Linked DNA regions of Homo sapiens: all the other regions are linked to region 2. Evidence: promoter capture Hi-C in 16 types of primary human blood cells and fetal thymus (Javierre and others, 2016). All regions are on one chromosome and are shown on one strand. The core of a region is centred on a gene start or on the middle of the fragment in contact, and the rest is flanking DNA. Distances in the headings are between cores, read along the strand shown. Region 1 overlaps QPRT (quinolinate phosphoribosyltransferase). Region 2 holds the start of CD2BP2 (CD2 cytoplasmic tail binding protein 2). Region 3 holds the start of KIF22 (kinesin family member 22).

What was found. The method cuts DNA at HindIII sites, captures the fragments that hold promoters and counts their contacts. A CHiCAGO score of 5 or more calls a contact.
Region 1: a contact is called between a fragment that was not itself captured here and the fragment with the promoter of CD2BP2 in region 2, in 1 of 17 cell types (neutrophils). The highest score is 5.1, in neutrophils.
Region 3: the fragment with the promoter of KIF22 here is called in contact with the fragment with the promoter of CD2BP2 in region 2 in 2 of 17 cell types (neutrophils and monocytes); the score reaches 6.9 in neutrophils.

What each region holds. Positions count from the first base shown.
Region 1 is chr16:29,696,541-29,699,435 of GRCh38, forward strand. QPRT (quinolinate phosphoribosyltransferase) reads left to right here. Exons shown (of 4, transcript NM_014298.6): 3 at 456-587; 4 at 659-2,159. The coding sequence ends at 871. Among named protein-coding and RNA genes, the nearest start is that of QPRT, 19 kb to the left of the region's middle. The HindIII fragment of the contact is 2,648 bases long and covers 313-2,895 here.
Region 2 is chr16:30,353,947-30,356,919 of GRCh38, forward strand. It overlaps CD2BP2 (CD2 cytoplasmic tail binding protein 2), which reads right to left and starts at 1,362. Exons shown (of 7, transcript NM_006110.3): 1 at 1,266-1,362; 2 at 658-761; 3 at 238-376; 4 at 1-112. The coding sequence starts at 735. It overlaps CD2BP2-DT (CD2BP2 divergent transcript), which reads left to right and starts at 1,488. Exons shown (of 2, transcript NR_184233.1): 1 at 1,488-1,674; 2 at 2,347-2,973. RefSeq lists enhancers at 376-1,327, 412-1,611, 1,302-1,596, 1,328-2,279, 1,334-1,393 and 1 more. The HindIII fragment of the contact is 7,065 bases long and covers 1-2,973 here.
Region 3 is chr16:29,789,483-29,792,443 of GRCh38, forward strand. It overlaps KIF22 (kinesin family member 22), which reads left to right and starts at 1,269. Exons shown (of 14, transcript NM_007317.3): 1 at 1,269-1,347. The coding sequence starts at 1,278. RefSeq lists an enhancer at 680-1,079. The HindIII fragment of the contact is 11,757 bases long and covers 1-2,961 here.

The sequences.
Region 1 (2,895 bases), core at 387-2,886, 660 kb before region 2:
GGGAGGCTGAGATGGGTGGATCACGAGGTCATGAGTTAGAGACCATCCTGGCCACCATGGTGAAACGTCGTCTCTATTAAAAATACAAAAATTAGCTGGGCATGGTGGCACGCACCTGTAGTCCCAGCTACTCGGGAGACTGAGGTGGGAGAATCACTTGATCCCAGGAGGTAGAGGCTGCAGTGAGCTATCATTGCACCACTGCACTCCAGCCTGGGCGACAGGTTGAGACCCTGTCTCAAAAACAAAACAAAGCAAAAACAACCCCAAAGTCTGGTTTCCTTATTAACCCCAAGTTCATGGTCCACCCGAAGCTTTTCAAATGTCAGTCCCGGCTCCCCGCGCCCCAGCTGCAGTGCTGGGCCCTATCGTCACCCTCGCCCTCCCGGCTCCCTGCGCCCCAGTGCCAGGTGCTGGGCCCAGTCCTCACCCTTGTCCTCCCGGCTGCCCAGCAGGCGGTGCGGGCGGCCAGACAGGCGGCTGACTTCACTCTGAAGGTGGAAGTGGAATGCAGCAGCCTGCAGGAGGCCGTGCAGGCAGCTGAGGCTGGTGCCGACCTTGTCCTGCTGGACAACTTCAAGCCAGAGGTAAGGTGGGCTCTGCCTCCGGGGAGGGATCTGTGGTGGGCTCTTACCTCCCCTTGGCTTGTGTCCCGCAGGAGCTGCACCCCACGGCCACCGTGCTGAAGGCCCAGTTCCCGAGTGTGGCTGTGGAAGCCAGTGGGGGCATCACCCTGGACAACCTCCCCCAGTTCTGCGGGCCGCACATAGACGTCATCTCCATGGGGATGCTGACCCAGGCGGCCCCAGCCCTTGATTTCTCCCTCAAGCTGTTTGCCAAAGAGGTGGCTCCAGTGCCCAAAATCCACTAGTCCTAAACCGGAAGAGGATGACACCGGCCATGGGTTAACGTGGCTCCTCAGGACCCTCTGGGTCACACATCTTTAGGGTCAGTGGCCAATGGGGCACATTTGGCACTAGCTTGAGCCCAACTCTGGCTCTGCCACCTGCTGCTCCTGTGACCTGTCAGGGCTGACTTCACCTCTGCTCATCTCAGTTTCCTAATCTGTAAAATGGGTCTAATAAAGGATCAACCACATGGGGTTCTGCGGTGATAATGAGCACATAGTGAGGGGTCAGCAAATGTCAGAAGTTACCTGGGACAGCCGGGCACGATGGCTCACACCTGTAATCCCAGCACTTTGGGAGGCTGAGGCGGGAAGATCACTTGAGTTCAGGAGTTTGAGACCAGCCTGGCCAACATGGTGAAACCCCATCTCTACCAAAAATAGAAGAATTAGCTGGGTGTGGTGGCACGCGCCTGTAATCCCAGCTACTTAGGAGGCTGAGGCAGGAGAATCGCTTGAACCCAGGAAGTGGAGGTTGCAGTGAGCTGATGGTGCCACTGCACTCCAGCCTGGGTGATAGAGCGAGACTCTGTCTCCAAAGAAGAAACAAAGGAAAGAAAGAGAGAAAGAGAGAGGGAGGGAGGGAGGGAGGGAAAGGAAGGATGGAAAGAAAGGAAGAAAGGCAGGCAAAAGCCCCAGACAGGCCAAAACCTTCATCCTTCATGCACCCAACCTGTACCAAACACCAGCATGGCCTGGCTGTGAGTGCACAGCAGATGGAGGTTTGCTGGGCAGAGACACTGGGCTGGCCTAGACACTGCCTTTGGTGATACCCTAAACCAAAGGGGCCAGTCCCACAGTAAGAAGGAGACCACTACTACTCCTGCTGCCCTCCTCCCCCCACCTTGCCTAGTTTACAAGACAGGAGGAAAGAGAGAAAGCAAAAAGTTAGAAAACAAAACAAAACAGAAGTAAGATAAATAGCCAGAAGACCTTGGCGACACCACCCGGCCCTGGTAGTTAAAAAAAAGTAACAATAATAATAATATCAACCCCTGACCTAAACTACTTGTGTTATCTGTAAATTCCAGACATTGTATGAAAAAGCATTGCAAAACTTTCTGCTCTGTTAGCTGATGCGTGTAGCCCCCAGTCACGTTCCCCGCTTGCTTGAGATATCATGACCCTTTCACGTGGACCCCTTAGAGTTGTAAGCCTTTAAAAAGGCCAAGAATTTCTTTTTCAGGGATCTCAGCTATTAAGATGCAAGTCTGCCAATGCTCCTGGCCAAATAAACCTCTTCCTTCTTTAATCCGGTGCCTGAGGAGTTTTGTCTGTGGCTCGTCCTGCTACAAGAGGACACAGCCCAGAGGTGCCACCTGCAGCTGCCCTGTCCCCTCTAATCCCAGCTCCACCCTGCCTGCTCCCGTCCTTCCTCCAGGGGGAACATGGACACGCTCAGATGAACCCCAGCTTCTTATGCCTGAACTGGGGAAACTGAAGCCCCATGGGACCAGGGGTTCCACTGGGCATCAAGGGAGGAAAGTTGAGCCCCGGGGTGATCTGGGAACTGGGATCTGGGATCTGGGCAGGCATTGGGGCCTGACAGAGCAGAAGTGAGGAGAGGGTACCAGGAGCTGCAAACTCGGTGCCTCCAGGACCTATTCGGATAAAATAAATGGGTGGAACTGGAATAAGACAAAGTGGGGGTGCGCTGTGGCCAACTGGAAAATGCTCGTTGCAGCCACAGCGTTCCATTAAAAAAGCGAAAGGAACCTGCCTGCCTGAGTCTTAAGCTCCCCCTAAACCCAGAAATGGGTTAGCCCTCCAGTATCCTCCAGCTCTGAGAGCTGGGGCGGGCACTCCATTACTGGGGGAACAGGAAATGGATCCTGGGCACTCTAGGGCAACACACGCCCTCCTTGCAGGGAAATGGATTTCCAGGCAGGGGAGATGCATGGGCAGAGGTGGCTTGGATTGTTTGCTGTAAGATTTGAAGCTGTGATCAGGAGGTGGCTAGGAGATGGGCTGGGTCCAGACCACAAAAT
Region 2 (2,973 bases), core at 112-2,611:
TTCAGGAAGTAGTTGCCATCGGCATCAAAGTGGCCTTCCTCCATCTCCTCCTGCAGGTTAAAGGGTGTGATCCGAACACCCCCCTCGCTGGGGAGTGTGGCTGCCTCCTGACCTGCACCAAAGACACAGGTGCCCTTTTCCAGGCATGGAAAAAAGAGACCGGAGCCTCCCTCGCTCCACACCACCAGAGGCCCCTACTTGTTTTTCCAGCAGAGTGTATTCTTGGGTACAGCTTACCTTCTACATCCTCTGAGGCCAAGATGTCATATTTGCTGGACCCCCCATCATCATCATCCTCCTCCTCATCGCTATCCAAAGAGTGTTTGCCTTTAAAGCGGCTCCCAGGACCCCCTGACCCAGCCACAGGGTCCACCAGCTGTGAGCAGGAGCCAGAAAGTTGAGAAATGCAGGTTACTGGCTACCTCCCCAAATACTTCCGGATCTGGACCCAAATATTCCCCAAATATTTCAGGATCTCGACTACTTCCCCAAATATTTCAGGAGCCACACTAAAGACGCTCCCAACCCATTCCTCAGAGAACCTGAAAAAACTAGGCTTTTCTCTGCCTGCCCGCCCCGCCCCTCTCCCGCCAGCTTTCTTCCTCTTCAGGCTTCTAGCTCCTCTTTCCCCCACACAAAGCAGTCTGGCCCCCTCACCTTCTTCTTGGGGACAATGATTTCATCCTCATCCTCCTCATCTCCCACGCCTTGGAAGGTCACTTTCCTCTTTGGCATGACGGGGCAAAGAGGTGTTTCTCAAGCTGAGGAAAGGATGCAGAGGAAGGGAACCGGGTGAGGAGGGGACTCGCCAACAGACGCAGCACAGCAAACATTTTTCCTGGTCTGTGACAGGTACAGTTTGGGAGCGGAGGGAGCACAAAAGCAGGGGCCGAAAGGAAGCTGGCAGCCAGGAGGCCTCCAGGACTTGGGTCTAGCATCCGCGAGTTAAACGGGGCGGGGACGGAGGAGCGGACCCTCTGGATCCCCCGACCCTGGCTGAAAGGAGACAGGCTTCACCACGTGACCGCCCCCAACTCCAGCCCCCGCAGTCTGCGCGCCACCGGCTCCACGGGCTGACCCCCGCTCTCTACCCTGGCTCTCTCGGAGCTCGCCGGGCCCCGGCAGACCCAGGACCTGGCGCTCTCGCCACCCCGTTCCTCCCTGCTCCGAACTCCCAATTCCGTGTGGTGAGCCCCAACTGTCCCGGGCTGTGTACAACTTAGAGGGCCACGGGGATTCGGGCGGTCCCACCCTCGCGCACTCACCTGGGAATCCGCGGAAGGCGAGGTGGAAAAAAGAAGAGATGCTTGCGCCAGGGCTACATCCGGGGCACCCGGCCGCCATCACCCGGAAGAGGACTGCGGAAGGCGCCCGGGAAGCCCGGAAGTGGCTTCACTCGGGTTAGGGAACTAACTGGAAGAGCGGGCGGAAGTATGCGATAAGCGAGCGAAGACGCCTCCACCCTCTCTCCCGCCAGAAGTGACGTCAGTCACGTGGGAGGACAATGGTGAGAAGAGGGAACCTAAGAATTCCTGGACTCTGACTGGGCGTGAGAAATGGCCGGAAGTAGCTTCGAGTCCGTCATTCAAGCAGTAGAGGCTCTGGAGAAAAACTGGAGCGCATCTGCTTAAAGGGCCGCCCAGGGTCAGGATGGAGGGGCAAAGTCCGAGCAGGGTCAGTGGGTTGCTGCTCCGTTTTCCTGTCCTGGGTTCAAGTCACCCTTCCCCCAGGGCTAAGGGCTCAGCGCCCCTACCGTCTCGTTAGAAATCCTGCCTTCCCATTCCTATGGTCCAGTGGTCAGCCCTCCTAGCCTGAGAGGTGCAGCCTTGCCTCTCCGAGGGGAAGCCTGACTCTCCCGATGGCCAGCCTGGGGCCCCTGGACGGCTCTCCGGGCACTTTCTGAACACACCTCCCTTTAGGACCCAGGGGAAATAATTTGTCCCACGCCCATACCCTGGGCGAGTTCCTGGTTTCTGAGGTGGGAGAGCCATCACTGGAGAGGTGGCATTGGCGCCAGTACTCAGGCCAGAAGCCCCTTGTGCCCTGCTCTCAGGTAGGCCTGGAAAAGGGCAACAGTGCCTCTCTGCAGCATGAAGCCCCCCTGAGCAAACAGGGCCTAGCAACTCCTGCCCAGGTAGCGGAATGTGGCCCAAGCAGAAGGGGGAATTGGGGAGGTAGCGGGGATCAGCCCCTGTGCTGGGACCCCTAGCTCTTGACACTCGGAGCCTGCATCCCCCTAAGCCAAGACTGTGCGCAGGCAGCACGTGCTGAAGCCAGACGAGGACAGCATGAGAGTTCCCCTACTCTTCCCCCAGGCAACTAGATGGGCCACTTCTCTCTCCCTAGGGGTTTCCTCCCATATTGGATCACGATGAAAACTGCACAGAAAGTCCGTGCTCAGTTTCTTCCATGGTTACAGAACACAGGCCCCAGACCAGGAAGGCATTCTGCTAAAGAAGGGGACCCGAAACCTCAGCTACCAGCGCCGATGGTTCATCCTCCGAGGAAACCTCCTCTTCTACCTAGAACACTAGACCGACCATGCACCCCTGAGCCTCATCCTGTTAGAGAACTGCCAGGTGGAACCACACCTTAAGGCTGCAGAACCCTATGCCTTTACCATCCTGACCCCTGGGGTGGAGGGCACAGGTGGGCGGGCCTACAAGCTGGCTGCAGAAACCCAGGAAGAGCTGGAGACTTGGCTGTGGGCACTGGCTGGCGCGAGCTGGAGGCGGCTGGCTGGGCTGCTGTCCCCCCTCCCCCCCCACCAAAACCCAATACTGGGAGCTGTGCCAGGCAACTGGCCAAGAACCCATCTCATCCCCAGAGGACAGTGGCTTTCTAGCCACTGTGAGTACCCCCTCCAGCTTCCAGGAGTTGCATGAGCACTTTGGGAAGGAGATCCGGGTGCTGCACGTGGTACATAGAGAGCTCCAGGCAGCCAGTGACAATGGAGACAGCAGATCCCAGGCA
Region 3 (2,961 bases), core at 19-2,518, 560 kb before region 2:
AGAGGCAGAGGTTGGAGTGAACCGAGATTGAGCCACTGCACTCTAGCCTGGGAGATGGAAGTGAAACCCCGTCTCAAAAACAAAAAAACAAAAACCCTCATATACACAAAACATCTTTGGAGGCCTCATTTTTAAAAACTGTAGTGGGATCCCAAGGCAAAACGTTTCAGAAACACTGATCTAAGATTTGTGTTTTTTGTTTTGAGACGGAGTCTCACTCTGGCGCCGTGGCTGGAGTGCGGTGGCACCATCTCGGCTCATTGCAACCTACACCTCCCGGGTTCAAGCGATTCTCCTGCCTCAGCCTCCCGAGTAGCTAGGACTACAGGCGTGCCACCATCCCCGGCTAATTTTTGTGTTTTTAGTAGAGACGGGGTTTCGCCATGTTGGCCAGGCTGGTCTCGAGCTCCTCACCTCAGGTGAGCCTCCCGCCTCAGCCTCCCAAAGTGCTGGGATTACAGGACTGAGCCACCGCGCCCGGCCCGTGTTTTGTTTTGTTGTTCAACAGGGTGGAACATAATGTCTAAACCTGGGCCCTACCTACCTGGTGCTCAAAAGTGGAATGACCGTCCCTAGCCAACCCTTCAGAAAGGACAGAGAGCTACTCAACGGACTGCTGTACTCTTAAGGACTGGGAACCGGAACCGTGGGTGAGTGGGACTGAATCACAGACTAAGCGTTTTCCACGCTTCGCCGACGTGCTGAGTGCCAAGTTATAAAGACAGGAACATCCAAGCTGCTCTCCTGGGCTGACACGGACGCGAGGGGACCTACAGTGGCCTTGGGCCCAGCAGGCAGCGACTGCAACGTGACTGCCCAGAGTCCAGCCCCTGGGGCCCAGATCTACAGAACCGACCAGACGTGATAGCCCTTTGGCTGGGGCTGCAGTCCCACGATCCACACAACGACCCTGGCTCCGCAGACGCGCCAACCACCCACGGAGGCAAGAAACTGCAGAAAGTAAAGGGAAAGGGAGCCCAGTGCCGGGCGGCGCTGAGCAGCTCCCCCAGCGGCCACCGTCGCCAACATCCCTGCGTAGGGGTTTGTATCGCAGCGCGCTTCCAGACATCAACGGCTGCGCGGCCCACGCGCGCGCATGCGTCCTGACCAGGGGAACCTTTTCTTGGGGACCCGGAGGCGAGCGCTGGAAGGCGGGATAGTGGCGACCCACACGCAGCAGCTTCCGGCGGCGCGTAGTCTTGATTGGTGGAACCTGGGAGAGGGGGCGGGGCACCGGGGAATTCGAATGGGAGAGGCGGGCCCAAGGAGGGAGTGGAATGGCCGCGGGCGGCTCGACGCAGCAGAGGCGACGCGAGATGGCGGCAGCTTCAGCGGCGGCGATCTCAGGTACTTGAGCCCGGCCTGGGCAAGGCGGGTACCGACGTCTGGAGTTTAGTGGGAGTTATGTGTCGGAGTGTGGTCCAGGCTCTGCGGGTTGTCGCGGAGAGGCGGCCATGGCGCAGGGGCGGGGAGAGGGGGACGGTGAGAGTGTGGGGTCGCGAGCCGGTCGCCCCGCCTGGCTCCTGCCTTCTCCCTGTTTCCTGCTCTCCCCTTGGGTCAGTAGACTCGGGTCTCCGGTCCAGGCTCTTGGCTTGAACCCCGCGCACTTTTTCTTTGTGAGCTTCGGTTTCTTCGTCTGTGAAACGGGGGTCATGGCCTCATCCCTGGAGATCACCTGAATAAGCAAGAGAAGAGTGGCGGACGCTCTAGCCACGAGGACGAGAAGAAGGGAGCCGGAGGCGTGTATTGGGAAGGGTTCTGTGTGGGACATGGTGTTTGGGTGCAGAGACATCCCTGAGAGATGCAAGAGGACGGGCTGAGGAACAGACCCGGCTGCTGCTGGGTTTGAGTTGGCAGCGTAAGATGCTCTGCGATTACAGGAAAACGAAATAAAAGACTAAAATTTCCTTTCACTCTAGCATGGAAGTGAATGCTATTTTAGGGTTGGAAAGGCTGTTAGGACACCCAAAATCTTGTATGTGAGTATTTGTTTACATGTGCCTCTCTAACCCGGAGACTTAATCCTCGTTAGTGATGATGGTGAGCGCCATAGTAATTCACTGGAGCCCTCGTTAGCCTCGTGGGGAAACAGACATTTAGGAGAATGCCTAACACATGTAGAGCTCTTGCTATGTGCCAGGCACAGTTGTAGGCATTTTATGGTGGTGAACCATTTATTGTCCACACAATGCTATCAGGTTGTTACTATTACTGTCTTTGTTTTACACAGGAAACTGAGGTTAGTTTGTTCAGAGTTAACACAACTAGTAAATATTGGGGCTTGAATTCGCTCTCAAGGAGTCTGAGTGTAGAACCTCTGCTCTTAACCATTATGCCCAAGTACATGTTATCCCTGCTGGCTGAGCACAGTCTCCCCTTACCCTTCGAAGATGCACTGTGTCCGGTGCATGGTAGATATGAAAATGCCTGAATGAATAATGTCCCTTCCTCGAGGAATTTACAGTCTGTTTCAATAGAGTGTCACATACGTAGATGTAATACGAAACACAATGAGAGATGTGTATAAACTGAGGGTGTGGAATCTGAAGTAAGCCCTTGAGTATTCTGGGAGGACTTCATTAAGGGAGTGAATGATACTTGAGATGGGTTTCAAAGGTTGGATAGGAGTTTGCCAGGCCTTGACTAAGAAGACAAGAACAGCAAGTGTTTTCTTATTTATGATGTAAGATGCTCTCTTAGCTCAATTTCCTCATCAATAAAAGGGAGAAGAGTGAATGAAATTTAGGAATTGTGAAAGAAGGGAAAATTAATAATTGCTAGCCTGGTCCAAGCTCAAGGTTGCTTTTATCATGAAAGGGCTAGACTCTTGTGCAGTAAATAATTGTTTACATGTGGCCCTCCCCTCTTCCCTCCTACCCTGGACTGTGAGCCCTGGGGCAGGAATGGCCGTGAGCCATTTTCATGATGGAAATGAACAAGCCAGTGATTAGTAGTTTATTC